4 separate regions of the Homo sapiens genome follow, and regions 1, 3 and 4 are each linked to region 2. The links are contacts of gene promoters, found by promoter capture Hi-C in blood cells and fetal thymus (Javierre and others, 2016). All regions are on one chromosome and are shown on one strand. Each heading gives the region's core, a stretch centred on a gene start or on the middle of the fragment in contact. The rest is flanking DNA. Distances are from core to core; before and after follow the strand shown. Region 1 overlaps EVI5 (ecotropic viral integration site 5). Region 2 holds the start of BRDT (bromodomain testis associated). Region 3 holds the start of HFM1 (helicase for meiosis 1). Region 4 overlaps HFM1 (helicase for meiosis 1).

Evidence for each region. The method cuts DNA at HindIII sites, captures the fragments that hold promoters and counts their contacts. A CHiCAGO score of 5 or more calls a contact.
Region 1: a fragment that was not itself captured here is called in contact with the fragment with the promoter of BRDT in region 2 in 1 of 17 cell types (fetal thymus); the score reaches 5.9 in fetal thymus.
Region 3: a contact is called between the fragment with the promoter of HFM1 here and the fragment with the promoter of BRDT in region 2, in 1 of 17 cell types (monocytes). The highest score is 5.8, in monocytes.
Region 4: a fragment that was not itself captured here is called in contact with the fragment with the promoter of BRDT in region 2 in 1 of 17 cell types (total B cells); the score reaches 5.6 in total B cells.

What each region holds. Positions count from the first base shown.
Region 1 is chr1:92,637,027-92,639,890 of GRCh38, reverse strand. All of the region lies in intron 13 of EVI5 (ecotropic viral integration site 5), which reads left to right. Among named protein-coding and RNA genes, the nearest start is that of EVI5, 150 kb to the left of the region's middle. The HindIII fragment of the contact is 2,003 bases long and covers 328-2,330 here.
Region 2 is chr1:91,948,022-91,951,189 of GRCh38, reverse strand. It overlaps BRDT (bromodomain testis associated), which reads right to left and starts at 1,789. Exons shown (of 19, transcript NM_207189.4): 1 at 1,508-1,789. The HindIII fragment of the contact is 8,652 bases long and covers 1-3,168 here.
Region 3 is chr1:91,403,202-91,406,140 of GRCh38, reverse strand. It overlaps HFM1 (helicase for meiosis 1), which reads left to right and starts at 1,304. Exons shown (of 39, transcript NM_001017975.6): 1 at 1,304-1,343. RefSeq lists a silencer at 1,330-1,709. The HindIII fragment of the contact is 14,376 bases long and covers 1-2,939 here.
Region 4 is chr1:91,266,760-91,269,540 of GRCh38, reverse strand. HFM1 (helicase for meiosis 1) reads left to right here. Exons shown (of 39, transcript NM_001017975.6): 35 at 1,686-1,796. Among named protein-coding and RNA genes, the nearest start is that of HFM1, 140 kb to the left of the region's middle. The HindIII fragment of the contact is 3,810 bases long and covers 1-2,781 here.

The sequences.
Region 1 (2,864 bases), core at 80-2,579, 690 kb before region 2:
GGGTTACTGTAGCCTTGTAGTATAGTTTGAAGTCAGGTAGCGTGATGCCTCCAGCTTTGTTCTTTTTGCTTAGGATTGTCTTGGCTATACAGGCTCTTCTTTGGTTCCATATGAAATTTAAAGTAGTTTTTTTCTAATTCTGTGAAGAATGTCAATGGTAGTTTGATGGGAATAGCATTGAATCTATAATTACTTTGGGCAGCATGCACAATTTTTTATTTAGAGTTGTGATAAGTGTTACAAAAGAGATGAGAACAGGGTTCCATGAAATGTTTGGGTTCCTGAAAAGAGCATATAAATGTCATATCTTGAACTTAGTTAAAAGCTTAATGTATACTTAAATTCAAGCAATATTGGATACATTTGCATGGACAACCCTTTTTCTAATTTCAATTTTTTTTCACTTAATAATATGAGAAACTTCCCCCAATACAAATATTTACTTTTTACTGTATTACTCCTATTTCCTTCAAATATTGAAATTTTTTTTAATAATATGAGAAACTTCCCCCAATACAAATATTTACTTTTTACTGTATTACTCCTATTTCCTTCAAATATTGAAGATTTTTTTTTAAGCTCAAGACACAAGCAAAAAGGATTACTGAGGACTTTCTAACTTACCTTTACCTTTGTAATTTTTGCAACACCAGAAAAGCACATAGGATTGAAAAGCAGACTCTGCTTACTAAAAAGAATTTCTGTCAGTTTCATTGGAATGGGATTGCTGGTATCACAGAAACATTATGAGATTCATTTACATAAATTAACTTGATGTAAGTATAGAGAAGTCATCTGTCATTTCTATGCTTTTAAATAAACGGCTCCCCTTGCTGAGACTGCCAGCCATCATAATTGTGGCAGTTGTCATTTGGTAAAACAAATTGTGTGTCTGTCCAAGTTACTCACTTGAATATGAAATGCACTCTTCTAGGAATTTCTTAATACAAGAACATTATGTGAGATCTATATGCTTAGATTTTTTTTAGAGGTTTGGATTTTTTTAATATTATATAATTAATTTTTAGAACAGTATATATTAAAACAATATATTAAACTCTTCAACACCTATATGGCTTAAAGGTGAGGAACATGGGCTCTGTAATACAAACTGTCAATTAATAGCACTATCAACTGCTGTTTGACCTTGGTGTACCCTATTAGTTTCCTTATTAGTAAGACAGTAATTGTGGTGAAGGTTAAAGGAGAATATAAAGTGCTTAACATGTGTCTGGCACATAGTAAGTGGTGAGTAGATGTTAGCTGCTGTCATAATTGTCATTTCTGTCAAACATTAAAACATGTTTATAAAACTGTTTTCCCCCTGTGGAAAATAGAATAAATTGAAACTACAGTGGTTAGCTTCAGGTAATTTATAGTTCACAGCAGCATCTTTTCCTTAGACACTGTGTAATTTGCAGTATGTTAATTGGCCACCATCATGATGACCTGGGAATTATATTCTGTAAACTCTGTCAGTGGCAAAAAAATTTACATAATACGTTTAGAGTTATTTTAATCCAGAAGACTAAAATAATATGTTTTAGAGTATAAAAAGCATAAGATATATATTATCCAGAATGACTTGTTATCAGAGCATTTCAGCTCTCTGTAAATTTTATTAATAAAGATTTGTGCCCAACATTACTATAGCTTTTTGTACTTGATTGGATTAGTTGGTTTATGCCAATCAAGAATTCCATTCTCATATGGGCCTTTGAGTTTGATGTTTTCTTGGGGATCTTCTAATATAAAGTCTTTGCAAACAAACCTGTGCTACAGTTGCCAGGGCTTTAAGTTGAGGGCAAAAAAATTCTTCCAGTACCCACGAAATAACTGTGATCTAATTAAATAAATTATGGCACATCTAGTTTGGATGTGGTCATTCCAAAAGAATGCCTTTTTCCTAATTGATAAAAGGTAAGTATTTGCTAAGATGATGTGTCTGTTGCAGATGCACTTCTCGTATTGAAATATTGTTTCAATAGTATCAAAATTACTAGAAGAAATAATGTATAATGCATTGAATTAAAGTCCTCATTTGCACATCTTTTTTTGGTAACTGGGGCAGGAGAGTACCATGTATTAAGCATCTGGTTATTTTTAATAGTTTTGATTTGACATCTGTTTTGTTCCTAACATATTAAAGAGTAAAAATAACTGTGCTTTATTCATGCTAGTTCAGTAGAAGATTGTTTTTTATGACTTTATTTTGAAATTTTGAGTTGCCACATTTTCTTTACTACATAAATTAAATGTGAAGTGATAGACAATTTATTTTAGAAAGTATTTTATAATGATGAATTACATATTGCTTTTGTACAGAAGCTTTTCTATGGGCACTGGCTTAAAAATGACGACTTAAGTGTTTGCATCAATATTCATGTTTTATAGAGTAGGAAAGCAAATGGGAAAGTTGCGTGCTTCCGTGGTTAATTTCTTTGTGCAGCATCTGCGTCTTCTCTACTTCCAGCAATTATTTCTATGTATATCTTTTTTTTTTTTTTTTCTTGAGACAAGAGTCTTGCTCTGTCACCTGGGCTGGAGTACAGTGGCATGATCTTGGCTTACTGCAACCTCCACCTCCCGGGCTCAAGCCATTCTCCTGCCTCACACTCCCTAGTAGCGGGGATTACAGGCGTGTGCCACCATGCCCAGCTAATTTTTGTATTTTTAGTAGAGACAGGGTTTCACCACGTTGGCCAGGCTGATCTTGAACTCCTGGCCTCAAGTGATCCACCCGCCTCGGCCTCCCAAAGTGCTGGGAAACCATGCATATCTTTTGAAGAAGATTTCTACATTTCTAAGGACAAATACAATTTTGTTATTTTGGAATTTAGATGGTTCACATTATTGTAGGTACC
Region 2 (3,168 bases), core at 540-3,039:
AACACGGTCAGCGACAGTGAGGCAGGGTATCTGTAGTACTAGCTAGCCAGTAGGCTTAGGCAGAAGAATCGCTTGAGGTCAGTTCAGGCTGTAGTTGGCCATGACAGTGCCTGTCAATACTCCAACCTGGGCAACACAGCAGGACCATCTCTTTTTTTTTTTTTGAGACGGAGTCTCACTGTCATCCAGGCTAGAGTGCAGTGGCCCGATCTCAGCTCACTGCCACATCCACTTCCTCCTGGGTTCAAGCCATTCTCCTGCCTCAGCCTCCCAACTAGCTAGGACTACAGGCACCCACCACCATGCCCGGCTAATTTTTCTATTTTTAGTAGAGATGGGGTTTCGCCATGTCGGCCAGGCTGGTCTCAAACTCCTGACCTCAGGTGATCCACCCGCCTCGGCCTCCTAAGTGCTGGGATTACAGGCGTGAGCGACTCAGGCGATCCTCTGAGATCGCCCAGCCATAGCAGCTATCTGTATTAAAAAAAAAAAAAAAAAAAAAAAAGCAATTATCCACTGTCACATCCTACTCGGTGTACATACATCCATGCCTTTGAGAAACTTCTCTTTACCTGAACTTCCCTCCTCACTTTTTAGTCTAACTTCTATTTGTCCCTCAAGATCAAGACGAGTTATCACTTCTGCCCAAGAGCCTCTCTCATTCCCTCCCATCCACCCAGGCCTTTCCCTTGAGTCCCAAAGTCCCTGTACATACCTCTTTCTTTTTTGGGGGGAGCGGGGAGACGGAGTCTCACTCTGTCGCCCAGGCTGGAGTGCACTGGCGTGATCTCGGCGCACTGCAACTTCCGCCTCCTGGGTTCAAGCGATTCTCCTGCCTCAGCCTCCCGAGTAGCTGGGACTACAGGCGCCTGCCATCACACCCAGCTAATTTTTGTATTTTTGGTAGAGATGGGCATTTCATTATGTTGGCCAGGCTGGTCTTGAACTCCTGACCTCAGGTGATCCACTTGCCTCGGCCTCCGAAAGTGCTGAGATTACAGGGGCGAGCCACTGCACCCGGCCTCCTCTATCTTAATTCTTAATACAGGCCAGCGCGCCTTGAAGTAAAGCCCACCACAATCCTGCAGTACCCAAAAGAGGGTTCAGACGTTCCAGGGGCTTAATAAAGTTAATTGAATAAATAAATGAAGCAAGAACCCGAACTTCCCCGTCCCAAATGACCACTTGCAGAATAAACACAAAATGCCAGCTAAAGCTAAACGCTCCGTACTTTCTCCTGCATTTCCAAAATTACAGTACAGGCAGCAGCGATCCACACCAGTCCAAGACCTAAGAGGAACTACAAAGACCATGAGTATTTTTCAAAATGGGAGGAGGCAGTTGGACAACTGGACCTCCCACTCCCTCGCCCCAACCTCCTCCTTCCCAGCCCTCCCTTGAAGAAAAACCAGACATTTAGGGGAAAAGAGGGAGAGAGAGAAAAAGATCCCTTGGGGGCAACGAGCCTGAAGTTGGTAAGGCCAAAGGGAAGCGACTGGCAACTCACCTGGGCTGCAGGCACGAAGCGGGGTGGCCTTCTCAACTGCCCGGACTGTCGCACGATGTTGATGGGGTCGGGGAGGGGAGAGGGGGGAAAAAACGGTTGTTCCCACCCAAGGCCGCACCTCGGGGCCGGCCTAAGGCAGCACCCCCTGTGGAGGGTACATTACCTGTATGTTACCTGTATATTACAAAACCGACCTTATGTGATTGCCCCTTTCAGGCTGCACAAAATGAAGCGGTGCAGGGCAACAGTTCTCCGCAGTTCCTCGCCGCCAGTTTTTGTTGTAATGGCGGTCGCGCGACAGGCGCTTTTATAGAAGACCCCCCGCGGGCGGCCTGCCCATTGGTCTGAACCTGTCACGTGACCACACCCAGCCCCGGGCGGTGCAAAAAAGGTGTAGGAGTCTGAGCCGGGCAGCTCAGGCCTGTTAGGGCAGGCAGAGTGGGTTCGGGTGATTGCCGTGTAGAGAGCCGGGGGTTAGGAGTAGGAGCGCTACACTCAAGGCGTTTGCTGTTAACACGACGTTTTCACTAATCAGTTAGCCTAGTAGAGGTTCTTGAGTTTTGGCTTCTGATGTTTTCGTGGTTTTCACGCTTTTTTCCCCAGCCTTCTCCACAGTTCCTGTCTCTTGCACGTAGTGAGTGCTTGATCAATATTAGGTAGCAGCTGAGGCTAGAGACATACTCTCTTTGGGTTTAAAGTGGCAATTTAAGAGCTGTTTCGCAACAGCTGCGTACTGATGAGTGCGTGATTTAGGATTTTGAGTCTTCGCAACTACCTCTTGATGGTTTGCAGATACTTTAGAGGTGCTAACATGTATCAGAAGAATATATTTAGTACAGTAGTTTCCCTTAGGATCAAATAGCAAACAACGCTTCTGAATTCCTAATACTCATTCGCAGTGGATGGATGGGAAGGGGAGGGCAAAAACAGCTGACAAGCTGCTCGCAAATCCGGCCAAAAAACCATCGATCTCCAGTTTCCTGAAGCGGAAGTCTGGGGGCCATTAACAGCTTGACACGTCTTAATTCAATCACTTTGATGTGGCAGGAAAGAACCAAGTGTTCACAAGAAAGCAACGCACTTGATCTACTTACTAGACGTCACATAAATACCTGGATTGGCAAGCACTTTTTGTTTAGATTTAATTTTCGTGTTCTTGTTTTTGCTGTTTAAAGTAGTATTAATGGTGTGGCTGCAGGCGCCTGCAATGCCCGTTACTGGGGAGGTTAAAGCGGAAGGCTCACTTAATCCCAAGGTTTCAAGGCCAGCCAGAGCAACAACGTGAAACTCTAATAGATTAGAGATTAGATATAGAGATTATCTTATTGTTCAGGAAAAGAGTAGATGGGTACAGACTTAGGGTGTGACTCTCACATCATGAAAAATCTGAAAGAAGTCAAGGGAAATGAAAGAGAGGAATGACTCAGTACAAATTTTGCCCCAACTATCAACTTTTTGACCTTCCTCTTGAGAATTAGTGGCAGGGAGACATGTACACTCTAGGTAAAGAAGATTGAGTGATTTTTTTGAGATTGAGTCTTGCTCTGTGGCCCAGGCTGGAATGAAGCAATGCAATCATAACTCAAGGTAGTCTCGAACTCCTGAGCTCAAGCATCCTCCTACCTCAGCCTCTCCAGGTACTGTAGGTGCAGACCACCACA
Region 3 (2,939 bases), core at 55-2,554, 540 kb after region 2:
CCTCACATGGTAGGAAAAGAGCGAGCTAACTCTCTGGCCTCTTAAAAGGGCACAATCCTACTCATGAAGGCTCTACCCTTTTGAGTTAATTACCTCACAAAAGTCCCACGTTCAAATATCATCACATCGGGGGTTAGAATTCAATGTATGAATTTCAACACATTGAGGGGTTCACTATAACAAATGCACTGTTTCGTTATTTTCCTCTATGCAGTCTATGGAAAGTAACTTTCCTCTCCAGTATTTTTGAGAGGAATGATAATTCAACCTTTCTATTAAGAATAGTTTATGCAGTCAAAATGTTATTTTCTCCAAGAGACAAAGACTTGTTATTTTATCAGTATCCAAATAACTGGCTCACCCAATTACTGGAATAATTTTACATTTCAGAGAAGGTGAAAGAAATTAATATTCATGAGCATTTACTGTGTGGTAGGACTACTGCAAATATTATTTTATTTAACCCTTGCAGCAGTATCTAGGAGTTAGAGCTTATGAGTATCACTGAGGATGCAGAATTAAGACTTAAAGGTTGGGTCTTTTCCAAGGTCATATAGCTAATGAACAGTAGAACTGCAAGAAAAAAGAGAACAGGAATAGGGCAGTCAGACAGCAGTAGGTTGGCCCTAGATGTCACAGGTGGGGGTTTCCAAAGGAAAGATAAATGTCTCTGTAAGAAAAGCATCATTGATTCGTTGCTATTTTATCATCTACAAAACATTCCCTGCCAAATCTTCAGAGGACAATTCTAAAGAAACTTAAAAGGATAATTTATAGTTTGTTCATGTTTACAGCCTAAGAACACATTATTGCCCTGTTTTTATAAATTCATGTTGGCTAAACACATTTAAATATCATTGTGTTTTAGAATATTTATTTCTGAAATTTAACTTTATTTCTGAATCAAGTTCCCCAGTAATACCGACCTCATGAGTGCCACTGTGATATTTTATAAATAATATAGGTAAAACACTTTTTAGGTACGAAGAGACCGGAAGTCCCAGAGCTGAGGCCTGGCTAACTTTGATGAGAAAGGCAGGTTGGGGTATGTTTGTGGAGTGGTGGTTGTGGGGGTAGAGAAGCAGGTTAGCTTAGGGAAAGGGTACCATTTAGTAGACCCTTAGAACCCAGGATTAGGAGCTGTATTTAAAGAGAATAGACACAGTAAACTGCAAGAGATATATTCAAAACCAGTTATAAACTTTCGGAGAAAAAAAGGTAGGAAGGGAGAGGTTGGGGGCTTGGGCGATCCATTGCTTGGAGCTCGGCTTAGCCAGGCTTGGCGGTCCTCAGAGGGGCTGATAAATCGGCGCTCGACTGGCCTAGGAGCTGTCCGCAGGGAGGTGAGGAGAGGGGCCCGGACGCCCGCGGGGAAGGTGGGGACGGGGGCCCGACGCCCGCGGGGAAGTGGGGACCCAGCCGAGCCGTCCGGGCAGCGGTCGATCTCTAGAGCCGTCTGCCGGGCAGGCAGCGGACGGGCGCGGCGAGTTGTTGGTCACCAGGCGTCTCCAGGCCGCCGGCCCGCGCCAGCGCCTCAGCCGCATTTCCAGTCAGAAAGCGGTGAGGCCTGCGGCGCGCTCGGGCGCAGGGCGGGCCCAGCTCCCCGCGAGGTGGGACCGGCTGGGCGTCCGGCCCGCCCCTAAAGTCGGCTGATTGGTGTTCGGTTCCTGTGTCTTGTGTTCCGGTGTGTGGCGCCCCCTGAGCGAGCGCTGGGGGGGACGTACCCATCTGTCTGAGCCGCGGGTTTCACAGCGGTGGGAGGAAACGGGACCCGGGGGGTGGAGTGACGCGCCCCAGCGCCCCGTTCTTGTGCCACTCTCGGGGCCCTAAGGCCTCTGCCTTGGATTTAGGATATTCTCCTTAGGAAATCCACAGAGCTGTTATTTTGCTTTAGGTGCTGATTCGGTCCCCAGCCGGACCCTTCCAGCCAGCCCTGTTGGTGCCTGGGGAGAGGGGGTGAGATCTGGGGCTCCGACAATTGTATGGTCCTTTCCCAGGCCGAGCCTCGGAGTAATTTGTTCCCGTTGATTTTTCCTTCTTTGTCAGATTCTCTGCAGTTATTTGTGACGGTCGGTTATTCCCGTAAATGTTGGTCCCTACTTCTTCCTTAACTCACAAAAATTTCTAGCAAATCAATAATTTTTATCTGAGTTTCTGTACTTTTAAAATAAGGAGTATGTTTCTGAGTAAAAATTGTAAGAAGTAATAGGCCTGCAATTTTATACAATAAGTTTATACAATAATTGTATACAATAATTTTATACAATAAGTAAAGATTACAGAAGACAAAATGGTGAATTGTCATTAATATAACTAAAGATTAATTGTATCTAGTTGTATTAATATTTAACTAGAGATTGTCATTAATATAACTAGAGAAGGTCGGCACCGCAAATTATGTAGACTCAAAAATAGCTTAAGTATTTTAACAGTGATTATAGCAGAGCAGACACTTAAAACTACCTGGGATGATATTGTTTATTGTGTTTGGCAATCTAATTTTGTGCCACGTGCTGAAACTAAAACTTTAATAATAAATAATAGGAACTTAAAAAATCTGAATCTAAACCTAGAACTTTAATTAATTTAAAATAGCATCCCCTCACATCACAAACTCATACTGAACTGTAGCAAGGTCCCTTTTAGGACCTGTGTTTCTTTTTTAAAAAAAGATTTACATAATGAAAGTGCCAAATTCATCATCTTTTAGAACCTTCATGATTTTATTTACATAAATCCTGAACTAGAAAAAAATTTCACATTTTTTAACTGAACGTTGAAGATTGGGGCTCAAATTTTAAGTTTCTAAATTAACAGAAAATTATTTTTATTTGACACTATTTTTATAAACTGGTTCTTGCTAATGCATTTATTCCACAATGCATTCTTATGGACCATTTACTGTGTGCCAGGCACTATTCTGGGTTATTGGAACACAT
Region 4 (2,781 bases), core at 227-2,726, 680 kb after region 2:
TTATAGGTACAGTTGAAGAATAAGGAAGGGTTTGGACAGGTGAAGAAATTCATAGAAGATATTTAAAGTGGAGGAAACTCAGTGATATGCTGGAGCAAGTTTATACTAACTTATGAGAGATGATTATTAAATTTTCAAGAATCTTTCAGCCATTATTGAAAATTTAATTACATAAACTTTCAATTAAATTATGTTAAAAACAAAGGCAAAAATACTCAAAACTCATCACTTCCTAATTGTTCTACTGCATTTTACTCTTATCTGTGTTCTCGAGATTATTTATCCATATGGTAGAAATACTATATTATAGGGTTCTGTCGTGCATTTTTTCCCAACTTCTTATTCAATTATGTCACATTAATAGCTTGAAATCAGTTATGGTGGGAACATTTATACCATAGGAATCAGCAAATACTACCAATCTGGGTTTGATTTATTGTTTTGCTTATTTTTTAGACTTAAGAAAGTGAAGGATAAAATTTTAATATTGTAGATTAAACAAATGTGTGTTGTTATTGTAGCCATTACATTGTGAATAACACAAAAAATTGAGAGAATATTCTTCTAGTATTTGAAAATTACTATCTAATTCAGGAAAGAAGTTGCTTAAGTCAATGGTGAATGAGTGAAATCCCAACAGATGTCTTTGTTGTTTTATTAATATTTTCATCTTACTTGTTAGAGTCAACAAAAATATCAAACAACATTCACATGAGAGCTACATTCGTCACTTGCAGCCATAGGTTGACTACAGATAAAACAGTGGCAAAACTTAATGAAAACATTCAATGAGAATCAATTAGATATATGGAATTTACATTTAAGTATACCATATATGTTGTTATTTGTAAAACGTGTGCTGTATAGCCTTTACATCAGCAAAGATTATAATAAACTTATATGTGTATACATAAGCATACGCTTTTTGTAGAGGTAGCTATTAAACATTTATTAGCACAATACTGTGTAAAACTGTACAACTAAAGGCATTTAGCGCCTCATAACAATCTTTTGAGGTAGGTACTGTTGTTGCCTTATTTTGCAGAATCAGGAAGTTTGAATTACTGTCTAAGACCATACAACTAATAAATGAGAGAAGTGGAATTTTCACTTATGTAATTTGGCTCTAAATCCAGGCTGTAAACAATGAATAACACTGAGGATTTTTTAGCAGGAGAAAAATAAATATTATTTATTTTGGACAAATACCTTTTATAACAATACTGAAAATTAACTTTAGGGAGAAGATCTGGAGGAGGAAGACCATTTTAGAAACTATTATAATCCAATCTTGGAGTAGAGTTATTCTAATATGGGAATTAAGAGGAAAAATTAATTGCCTAAAAAATGTATTGAAAATTAAATTTAGTGCAACTTTATACAGTTAATAGAATTGGCTGAATACAGTATTCAACAATGCTTGACACAATGCCTTTGAAAACTATTACTCAAGAACTCTGTTTAGTAGTTGAAAGATGTGTTTGATATATCAATAGACTACGATGCTTGTGGTTTAAAAAGTACCTATAGTCTTTTATACATACACATAACAGATTTTTCTAGATGTAACTGTTCTACAACTTCAAATGAGAAAGTCTCTCAAACAGTGTTCTTCAACAGAAATCTTAATATATCTGGAAACCAACATTTGACAGATGCAGATAAAAGCAATTCTCTATTTTCAGAAGTTTTGAATGTGAACTTTGAATTGGGAAATGAAGTTTGGGATGATTTTGATGATGAAAACTTAGAAGTTACTAGCTTTTCAACTGATACTGAGAAGACAAAAATATCAGGTAAAATCATACTTAGCATGCAATCATTTCATTAGGAATTCTTTGAATATTTTTCATTTCAGCTCCTGGAACTAAGTTTCTTTGCCTTTGTTGTGTGTGCTTGTTTAGTTAGATTTGGTTTGTTAAGATTATAATTTTTAGCAAAACTGAAAATGTGACTCTTCTACAAAGAACATTTCCCCCCTAAGAACAGAGATCAAGGTTATTCCATGATGATAATGTAGCAAATGAGCACTTTCTATTCTATTGCTCCTATCTCTTGTAAAAGTCAAATTCAAATTGTTTATTCAATTTTCTCTCATGAAACAGACTATTTTGTTCTCCATTCTAAGATCACAAATGGTCTGCTAATATTTGTGAAGAACAAAAAAATACATTTTTAAAACTATTCATCTGCTTGCAAAGAAAATAACTTTTATTTCTAGTTGAAATATGGACTTTCAGCTTGAAGTAAATAAATAAGTTAATACATAAATAAGTAAATAAGAAAGAAAGATTAGTTTCTCCTGTACTAGAAATTCTATTTAAATCATATACAACCCCAAAATAATGAGGCTTATTAGCTCTTTGAGTGAAAGGCAAATTTACTCTATTTCACTAAAACAGAGAATTGAAAACCTTGGCCAGTATGTGACAAGATAGCAATGGAGATACTGTCTCCCATTAGGGCTGACAGAAATAAATCAGTCCCTCAGCCTTCTCAGTGCAGACTGGTATTTCCACAATTATAGATACCACTTACCATACCCCACCTCATGTTTTTAAAAGAGTATTTCAAAGGGAAGCAGTTAGAAGTTGAAATGTTATTGTTTTGGGGGCCCTTAGAATTACCTAGAGAACTAATACTGCTTCTGAAAAGAACAGGATTTGACCACCTTCACAGAATAGGCCAGGAGAATCTCCATGATGTGGGGTCATTAGGCACAATTTTGTTTATCACCAGACAACTACTGTTCCCTACCTCAAACTTAAGTGTCATTGGGTA